Regions from separate parts of the Homo sapiens genome. Here region 1 is linked to region 2. Evidence: promoter capture Hi-C in 16 types of primary human blood cells and fetal thymus (Javierre and others, 2016). All regions are on one chromosome and are shown on one strand. Each heading gives the region's core, a stretch centred on a gene start or on the middle of the fragment in contact. The rest is flanking DNA. Distances are from core to core; before and after follow the strand shown.

Region 1 (4,762 bases), core at 1,575-4,074, 81 kb before region 2:
CAGTACAGACTAGGCACTGATCTGATGGAAGCGAGACAGGCTGGAGTAGCAAAGGGTCTGACTAAGAAGCTTAGGAGGAATTCCTCTGATACCCTTCTTGGTGCCCCCTCCCCAGCAACATCTAACAGCCTCACTCGGGCCCAACTTCCCTGTTGCACTGGTGGCACTGCATTGCAATTGTGGGTACAAGATTCCTCCCCCACAAAACTGTGGGCTGAGGCAAGAGTTCTACCTTTTTATTACTACGCCTCTGACACTCAGCACATATGAAGCACAAGCAAAATTTGATGACTAAGCTAAGTAATTAGTTCATATGTGTGATTAGGGTTTGAAAGGGCAGAACCTTGGACCTATGATCCCAAATACCTTTGTCTATCTAGTTCACCTGGTTTTGTTCCTCCTCAGAAGCCATCTATCCTCCTTACCTTGGTTCATGTTTTCCTATCTCTCCATTTTATACACATAAACCAACTCCTACCCTCAAATCAGGGAAAAGGGACAGATATTCCTGTCCTCAAGTTAAGAGTGACCTATGTCAAAGTGAAAAACAACTAAGCCAAAAAGGTAACAGGGAACTGGCTTCTTGAGCACTCAGAAGAATTTGAGATTACTGCCTCGCGAGGGAAAAAGGGAAACCCAACCCGATTACAGTGTAAAAATAGGTCACTGCTTGAATACAGCCCTTTGGTTACTGGCTGCAAGCCCCTTTTTGCTTTTGACTCCAGTGTCACAAGAAAGTGGCAGCATAGTCTTAGAATAAGGGCTCCACAGCCAGCTGGCTGCTCGGCCAGGCCTTCCTGCTGGCATTCTAGAAGCAGCATGCAGGGCCAGGCACCTACTGGGGAGCTCAGTAAGCCTTTGTCACTGCTGACATGAAATACAAGAGTTGGTAAGTTTCTTTGGTTTTGTTTTGAACAAACTGGCAGATAGTTCAAGGTTGTCCTTGTAAGTCTCTCTCACTTGCATTCAGCTATACATTGTTTAGTAGGAAATGAGTATAGTTCAGCTAGTTCACTTATCCCCATGCCAAACCAGCAGGCAGCCTCTTTTCCATGAGAGACAGTTATAATTTTGAATTATTGTAATGCTGTACTTGCAGCAAACTCGGTGTGTGTGTGTGTATGTGCACACATGGCTGGGAGTGGGGGGTAGTGCCAAAATGTTGGTTCTATGGCAAACAACAACAACAAAACAAACAAACAAAAAAACCGGCTGTGTATAGCTAAAAAACATGGCCAAGAAAAAGGTAGAATAGAAAACATGTTTTATTATCCTGATACTAAAGCCTGGCAGAGACACAATAAAAAAAGAGAATTTTAGACCAATATCCCTGATGAACATCGATGCAAAAATCCTCAATAAAATACTGGCAAACCGAATCCAGCAGCACATCAAAAAGCTTATCTACCATGACCAAGTTGGCTTCATACCTAGGATGCAAGGCTGGTTCAACATATGCAAATCAATAAATGTAATCCATCATATAAACAGAACCAAAGACAAAAACCACATGATTATCTCAATAGATGCAGAAAAGGCCTTTGACAAAATTCAACAGCCCTTAATGCTAAAAACTCTCAATAAATTAGGTATTGATGGGACGTATCTCAAAATAGTAAGAGCTATCTATGACAAACCCACAGCCAATATCATACTGAATGGCAAAAACTGGAAGCATTCCCTTTGAAAACTGGCACAAGACAGGAATGCCCTCTCTCACCACTCCTATTCAACATAGTGTTGGAAGTTCTGGCCAGGGCAATCAGGCAGGAGAAGGAAATAAAGGGTATTCAATTAGGAAAAGAGGAAGTCAAATTGTCCCTGTTTGCAGATGACATGATTGTATATCTAGAAAACCCCATCATCTCAGCCCAAAATCTCCTTAAGCTGATAAGCAACTTCAGCAAAGTCTCAGCATACAAAATCAATGTGCAAAAATCACAAGCATTCCGATACACCAATAACAGACAAACAGAGAGCCAAATCATGAGTGAACTCCCATTCACAATTGCTTCAAAGAGAATAAAATACCTAGGAATCCAACTAACAAGGGATGTGAAGGACCTCTTCAAGGAGAACTACAGACCACTGCTCAATGAAATAAAAGAGGATACAAACAAATGGAAGAACATTCCATGCTCATGGGTAGGAAGAATCAATATCGTGATAATGGCCATACTGTCCAAGGTAATTTACAGATTCAATGCCAACCCCATCAAGCTACCAATGACTTTCTTCACAGAATTGGAAAAAACTACTTTAAAGGTCATATGGAACCAAAAAAGAGCCCGCATTGCCAAGTCAATCTAAGCCAAAAGAACAAAGCTGGAGGCATCATGCTACCTGACTTCAAACTATACTACAAGGCTACAGTAACCAAAACAGCATGGTACTGGTACCAAAACAGAGATGTAGACCAATGGAACAGAACAGAGCCCTCAGAAATAATGCCACATATCTACAACCATCTGATCTTTGACAAACCTGACAAAAACAAGAAATGGGGGAAGGATTCCCTATTTAATAAACGGTGCTGGGAAAACGGGCTAGCCATATGTAGAAAGCTGAAACTGGATCCCTTCCTTACACCTTATACAAAAATTAATTCAAGATGGATTAAAGACTTAAATGTTAGACGTAAAACCATAAAAACCCTAGAAGAAAACCTAGGCAATACCATTCAGGACATAGGCATGGGCAAGGACTTCATGTCTAAAACACCAAAAGCAATGGCAACAAAAGCCAAAATTGACAAATGGGATCTAATTGAAGAGCTTCTACAAAGCAAAAGAAACTACCATCAGAGTGAACAGGCAACCTACAGAATGGGAGAAAATTTTTGCAATCTACCCATCTGACAAAGGGCTAATATCCAGAATCCACAAAGAACTCAAACAAATTTACAAGAAAAAAACAACCCCATCAACAAGTGGGCAAAGGATATGAACAGACACTTCTCAAAAGAAGACATTTATGCAGCCAAAAGACACATGAAAAAATGCTCATCATCACTGGCTATCAGAGCAATGCAAATCAAAACCACAATGAGATACCATCTCACACCAGTTAGAATGGCAATCATTAAAAAGTCAGGAAACAACAGGTGCTAGAGAGGATCTGGAAAAATAGGAACACTTTTACACTGTTGGGGGGACTGTAAACTAGTTCAACCATTGTGGAAGTCAGTGTGGCGATTCCTCAGGGATCTAGAACTAGAAATGCCATTTGACCCAGCCATCCCATTACTGGGTATATACCCAAAGGATTATAAAACATGCTGCTATAAAGACACATGCACATGTATGTTTATTGCGGCACTATTCACAATAACAAAGACTTGGAACCAACCCAAATGTCCAACAAAGATAGACTGGATTAAGAAAATGTGGCACATATACACCATGGAATACTATGCAGCCATAAAAAATGATGAGTTCATGTCCTTTGTAAGGACATAGATGAAGCTGGAAACCATCATTCTCAGCAAACTATCGCAAGGACAAAAAACCAAACACCGCATGTTCTCACTCATAGGTGGGAATTGAACAATGAGAACACACAGACACAGGAAGGGGAACATCACTCACCAGGGCCTGTTGTGGGGTAGGAGGAGTGGGGAGGGATAGCATTAGGAGATATACTTAATGTTAAATGAAGAGCTAATGGGTGCAGCACACCAACATGGCACATGTATATGTAACAAACCTGCACGTTGTGCACATGTACCCTAAAACTTAAAGTATAATTAAAAAAATAAAATAAAATAAAGAAAATATGTTTTATTAACAAACAGCATATTTTATAATGGCGGTGATCAATATTTATTAAACACAAGGTTCTAGAGGGCTCTTCTGGTAGGATAATTCTAAGAAAGAGGTTCCAGATGTCAACTTACATATTCCCTTATAAAACACAGCCCTGGCTTACACAGTATCTGGTGTACATGTCTCTTCTCTCCAATGAACTATAAGATCTTTGAGGTAAGGGTTCAGTGCTGCACCACTCAGCTACACTAATGGCAATGTGCACACAGTGAGCACTCATTAAATACATCAGTTACAGTTCACTTGCAGTTGCTTGCTTACTACCAAAAACCGGGGTCAATCATTATAAGCATTCCCATCCAACACCCAATTTGTTGCATGGGGAATGAACTTCAGTTTGGGTCCCTTGCTATTAAAGCACTCAATACCCATTATTTGTTTGCATTTATGTCGAACTCATAGATGCAGGATCTGAAAAGTTAAATGAAGCTTAACATAGGCATCCAAATAAAATTAATTAGAATTTATATCTCAACTATTTCTAACAGAGTTTGAGTAACAAGACTCAACAGAAGGAAAACAGGGTAATAACAGAGACTAAGAGGGAAAAAAAGGAAGGCAGCAGGGAGTGAAGGCTGGAGAAGAGAAGAAGGAAGGAAAAGAAGGAGGGACAGAGGGTGGAAACATCTATCTAAGCAAGAGCTTCTTCCTCAAGTCAAAAATTTCTGCAAAAAACAACATCTTTTTGGACAAATTTACATGATGCTTCTAACATCTGCTCATTGTGAAAAATGCAGGATAAAAACCTACAAATTCAGTATTTTTAGTATTTTTATCTAAATTTATATTTCATCAAAACAAGATAAATTTGAAAAATATTAATACATATATAGGCAAGACATTTCCTTACTTTGCGGAAATATGCTCACATAAATAATCCATTCTTTGCCAAAATAGAGCCCTTCCAACACCTGTTCCCCAATCTCCAAGGCAGGGTC
Region 2 (4,575 bases), core at 916-3,415:
CACAGCAAGGCCTTCAGAGTTTACTTTAAGACAAAAAGCTATTGGAGGGCTCTAAGCAGAGGACTAACATGATCTGAATTTTTTAAAGGATTGCAAAGAGAAACACAAGTTCCTACTCATAAAACAAAGATGTATCTCTCATAATCTAGTTATAAGTCAAAGAAAAAAAGCATAGAATAAAAGTTGTGTAGTATGATAGCATTTTTGTAAGAAAAAACACGTATACATGGGAACAAGGCTAAAAGGCTTAATACCAAATTGTGATTTACTATGGTTTGTGGGATTATGGGGTTTTTTTTGTTTTGTTTTGTTTGCAATGCTTTTCTTTGTTTTTCAAGTTTTCTGCCTTAAACATGAATTACTTTGGTAATTTTTAATGTTATCTTTAAAAAGAAAAAAGCACTCCACCATGAGACTTCCCTTGTCTGAAATCTTACTTCAATATGAAAAAAAAAAAAACAAACTCAAAACCAAAAACCAAAACAACATGGGGAACATTTTTTTCCAAAAATTACCACACTTCCCATGCAATGTTTGCCTGTCATGAACCACTGCACAAATCAAGCCCCGCTCAATGTATCAAGGTCACAAAACCAACTTGGTTAATATGTTGATCATTACATAGTGGCTCTGTCCTCTACAGCAACTTTGATACCATCTTTCCAAGGCAGCAACAGAAGGGCCCTTTTCATTCATTTTCTATGTGTCTTTGATACTATTTTGCGCTTCTGGATTTTTCCACTGTATGTCTCTTAGAAACAAATTAAGCTCGAATAAGTTGTTCCAGCTAATGAAGTGCGCTTTTGGCTCCTTCTCCGTGGTTCAGAATTATCCGGCAAAATACCAATTGTTTTAGGATGCATTTTCTCTTAGTTTTGAAATATTGCAATACTAAGTTACCACAAATAAAGAGCATTGAGATAACAACACACAAGAACGTGTATAAATGGAAACTACTGTAATCCTTTTTTAAATTAAGGACGTGTGGACGCCTCATGAATAAACATTTAGGATATCTGGATAAATATATACTATGTGTTCACATAGATAAAAACAGAAAGGAGCATTCCTTCCTACCTCACTCCCCCACCCCAAGTCACATAAGTTTCTCGCAGGGCACAAGCCCAGGGCAATCACTGCTCAGAAATGTAAACCATGCAACTCAAAATGACTCAAGCCCTCAAACACTCCCCACCTAAGTCCTACATCCCATCCACTCCTCAATCACTTCCAACAGGCTTCCCTGAATGAAAATCCCAAACTGGGAAGGCTTAACAAGCTCCAAACTCCACTCACACGCCACTCAGGGAATCCGAGGACCTGGGGCCCACGTGTAGTGTTTTCGCGTGGGCAGACAAGGGTCCCAAGATTCAGGGTGCTACTGTACCCCGAGTGGTTCGAGTCCTGGCTCTGCCGCCTTCACTGGTCGAGCTGACGCTCTTTACACCGGGGGCATGGGCTGCCACATCCCAGCAGAGTGCAAGGGCCCTCGGGCGTGGACGCAGGCGGCTCTCGGGTGCACACGCGGAACGCACACTCGGGCATGCACTCTCACACGGTCAGGCGGGCCTGCGCGAACGCCCCCGCTTCCCCTCTACCACCCCCTTTTGCGCCTTCTACGATGGTGGCACGCGGGGCTACCCTGACCCCTAGGACCCCTGGACGCCCGCTCCTGGAGCCCGGGGGGTGATGACAGATGGCGGAGGGCGGGGCTCCGGGGGGAAGGGGCGGAGCCTCTCAGCATGGGGGTGCTGGCGGCTGACAGAAAGACCAGGGGCAGCCGGCGGGAGGGGGCTGACTGAGACTGCGGGCCGGCCGCGGGCCAGGCGTGGCGGGAAGGAGCTCGCGCAGACACAGGGTCTGACAGGCAGAGAGAGATACAGACACCGGGGACTGACAGCCGCGGGGGCACGCGGGGCCGGCTGGCCGTGGCGGGCGCTCACCTGGCAGCGGCGGCGGTGGCGGCGCCCGCGACCGGGCCGCTCTTCCCGCGCTGCGGGCCTCCCTCCCCGCGGCCGGGCGGGCGGCCGGCGCAGGCCCCGCAGAGGCGGCGGCGGCGGCGACGCCGGAGCCGCGGACTGCTGAGCGGCGGGGACGCAGCTGCACCAACCGACTCCGGGCCGCTCGGCTGGGCTCGGCCGCTCTCGGAGGCGCTCGGCTCTGCTCGGCCTTGCACGGCTCCCCTCGGCCTTGCTCGACTCGGCTGGGGGCGTGGCCCAGGCCCCCCAGTCCGCCCAGGTCGCCTCTGGCGGCCGCGGGGCGGGGCTTTCGAGCGGGTGCGAGCCCCCTGACGTCGCGGGGAGCGGACCTTGCCCCCGGCGCATGCGCCAGCACTCCTCCTCCCCCCTCCTCCCCGCCCCACCGTGTGGAGGCTGAAGAAGACGGGGAAGGAGGCGCTGGGGGCGGATGCTGCGGTCCCAGAGGTTCCTGGCTTTTGTACTCCATATCCTGCTCTTTCCAGAGGACCACTTAAAGAAGGTCACACCAGGTTACACTTTCAAAAGGATGTGTGTGTAGGCTGGCAGGGGCTCTCGCTCCTGTCTGCCCCCACTCCTCCAATTCCAGTGTTTCCCAACAAGCGTCGACTAGGAGTGGTCTTTTATCCAACCAAGGGTTCACTGCAATTTTTAATATTTTCTGTTTTCTTAAGAATAATAACAAAAAAACTAACTCTTGATCACTGTTTTAACATTGAGTCTTCAAGTACTTGAACTTTCAAACATCAGTCAGCCTCCTCGAGTCCACTAATACCGTCCTTTCTTCATAGCTGTTGTATAACCTGTAATGCCTGGGATGGGGTTGGGTTCTTTCCTGAATTCTCGTCACATGATCCAGGCACCTTTTTAGTTATGGAACCAAGTCTGCAGCAAATATGCTCAGAAAGTGGCTCCCACCTTTAGAATCCAGTGATTAGTAAACAGCAGGAGCTCTACGGTCTTGACACACCTGGATGGGAATCCCAGATCTGCATTAATCTAGCAGGTTAATAATTGTCTGAGTGACTTTGGACGTGTTAATCTCTCAACTGTAAAAGGGCAATGAAACATGAGTAAATCAGTAGAAATATTAAAAGGGTTAAATGACACCACATATAAAGATTTCTGCACAGTGCTTGGTGTTCAATAAGTAAGGCTGCCTTTAACTTCAAGTAACTTTAGAACCTTCAGATCCTGAAAACCAGGGAGCATATACACAAGTGTGAGCGATGTGTCCAAGTAAACAAGTCGATAGTCAAACACCCATACGTGGCACCTTAGCTTGCTCCTTTCACAACCTTCCCTACCTCAGTTCATGTCAACTCCATTCTTCTGATGACTCCAGACAAACCATTGGAGTCATCCTGGACTCCACTCTCCCTATCATATCCCACATGCAACCCATTAGAAAAGCCTGTCAGCTCTACCTTTAAAATACCCCTTTTCCTCTTTCCTGGAATATTGTAGTAGCCTCCTGCCTGTTCTCCACGATTCCACTGTGCTCTCATGGTGCCTTCTCTCAACACAGAAGCCAGAGGGATCCTGTTGAAACCTAAGCTCAAAAGCCCCCAGAAGGTTTCCCATCTCAGAGTAAAAGCCAAAAAAAAAAAAATATGGGGGCAGTGGGGTGGAGAGTGGGACACAGTCTCACTCTGTCTCCCAGGTTAGAGTGCAGTGGCCCCATCACAGCTCACTGCAGCCTCAACCTCCCAAACTCAAGCAATCCTCCCACCTCAGCCTCCCAGGTAGCTAGGACTACAGGTGCACGCCACCATGCCCACCTATTTTTTTCATTTCCAAAATGTGGTTTTTTTCCCAAAGGCTTCCAAGATCCTATGTGTCTGCCCTTCGTCCACTTATACTCTCCACCTCTCTAACTGCACCTCCTTCCACTCGGCCTCCTCATTGCATGCCAGGCACACTAGCCTCCTTCTTGCTCCTGGAATATGGAGGCTCACTTCTACTTCAGAACCTCTGTACTTGGTGTTGCTTCCTCCAGATATCAGAAAGGCGTGTGCTTTCCAAGTTTCTACTCAAAAGTCACCTCCCCAGACTTTCCCAGACCACTCTACTAAAGTATCAAGTCCCAACTCCAATCACTATCCTCTAAGCCTGCTTTACTTTTCTGCCTAGCCCTTCTAACCTGAATATCATCTATAATATCTCTGAAGGTGGGAACTTTGTTTTTCCCATCTTCAACATCTAGAACATGGGTCGACATGTTCAGGTACTCAATAAGTATTTCTGGGATGAATGAGAATGTATATAGGTTATACTGCTCCAATACAACTTCATTTATTCAACAAACTTTTCTGAGCATCTATTTTGATCCAGGCACAGTGGGATCCTGAGAAAAATGAGGTATTCTCCCGACCTTTGAGGAACAGTATTTCAGAGGAAACAGTCATGTAAAAAAAATACTTCTGGCCGGGCACAGTGGCTCACGCCTGTAATCCCAGCACTTTGGGAGGCTTAGGTGGATGAATCATCTGAGGTCAGGAGTTCGAGACCAGCCTGACCAACATGGTGAAACCCCATCTCTACTCAAAATACAAAAATTAGCCAGGCATAGTGAGGCGCACCTGTAATCCCAGCTACT

The links. Contacts are between HindIII fragments. The CHiCAGO score rates a contact against its expected background, and 5 or more counts as called.
Region 1: a contact is called between a fragment that was not itself captured here and the fragment with the promoter of ZHX3 in region 2, in 9 of 17 cell types (naive CD4 T cells, naive CD8 T cells, total CD8 T cells and 6 more). The highest score is 11.2, in naive CD4 T cells.

What each region holds. Positions count from the first base shown.
Region 1 is chr20:41,234,014-41,238,775 of GRCh38, forward strand. All of the region lies in intron 2 of ZHX3 (zinc fingers and homeoboxes 3), which reads right to left. Among named protein-coding and RNA genes, the nearest start is that of MIR6871, 67 kb to the left of the region's middle. The HindIII fragment of the contact is 2,854 bases long and covers 1,398-4,251 here.
Region 2 is chr20:41,315,566-41,320,140 of GRCh38, forward strand. It overlaps ZHX3 (zinc fingers and homeoboxes 3), which reads right to left and starts at 2,166. Exons shown (of 4, transcript NM_001384317.1): 1 at 1,944-2,166. RefSeq lists silencers at 1,686-1,975, 1,986-2,435 and an enhancer at 2,546-2,595. The HindIII fragment of the contact is 7,702 bases long and covers 1-4,575 here.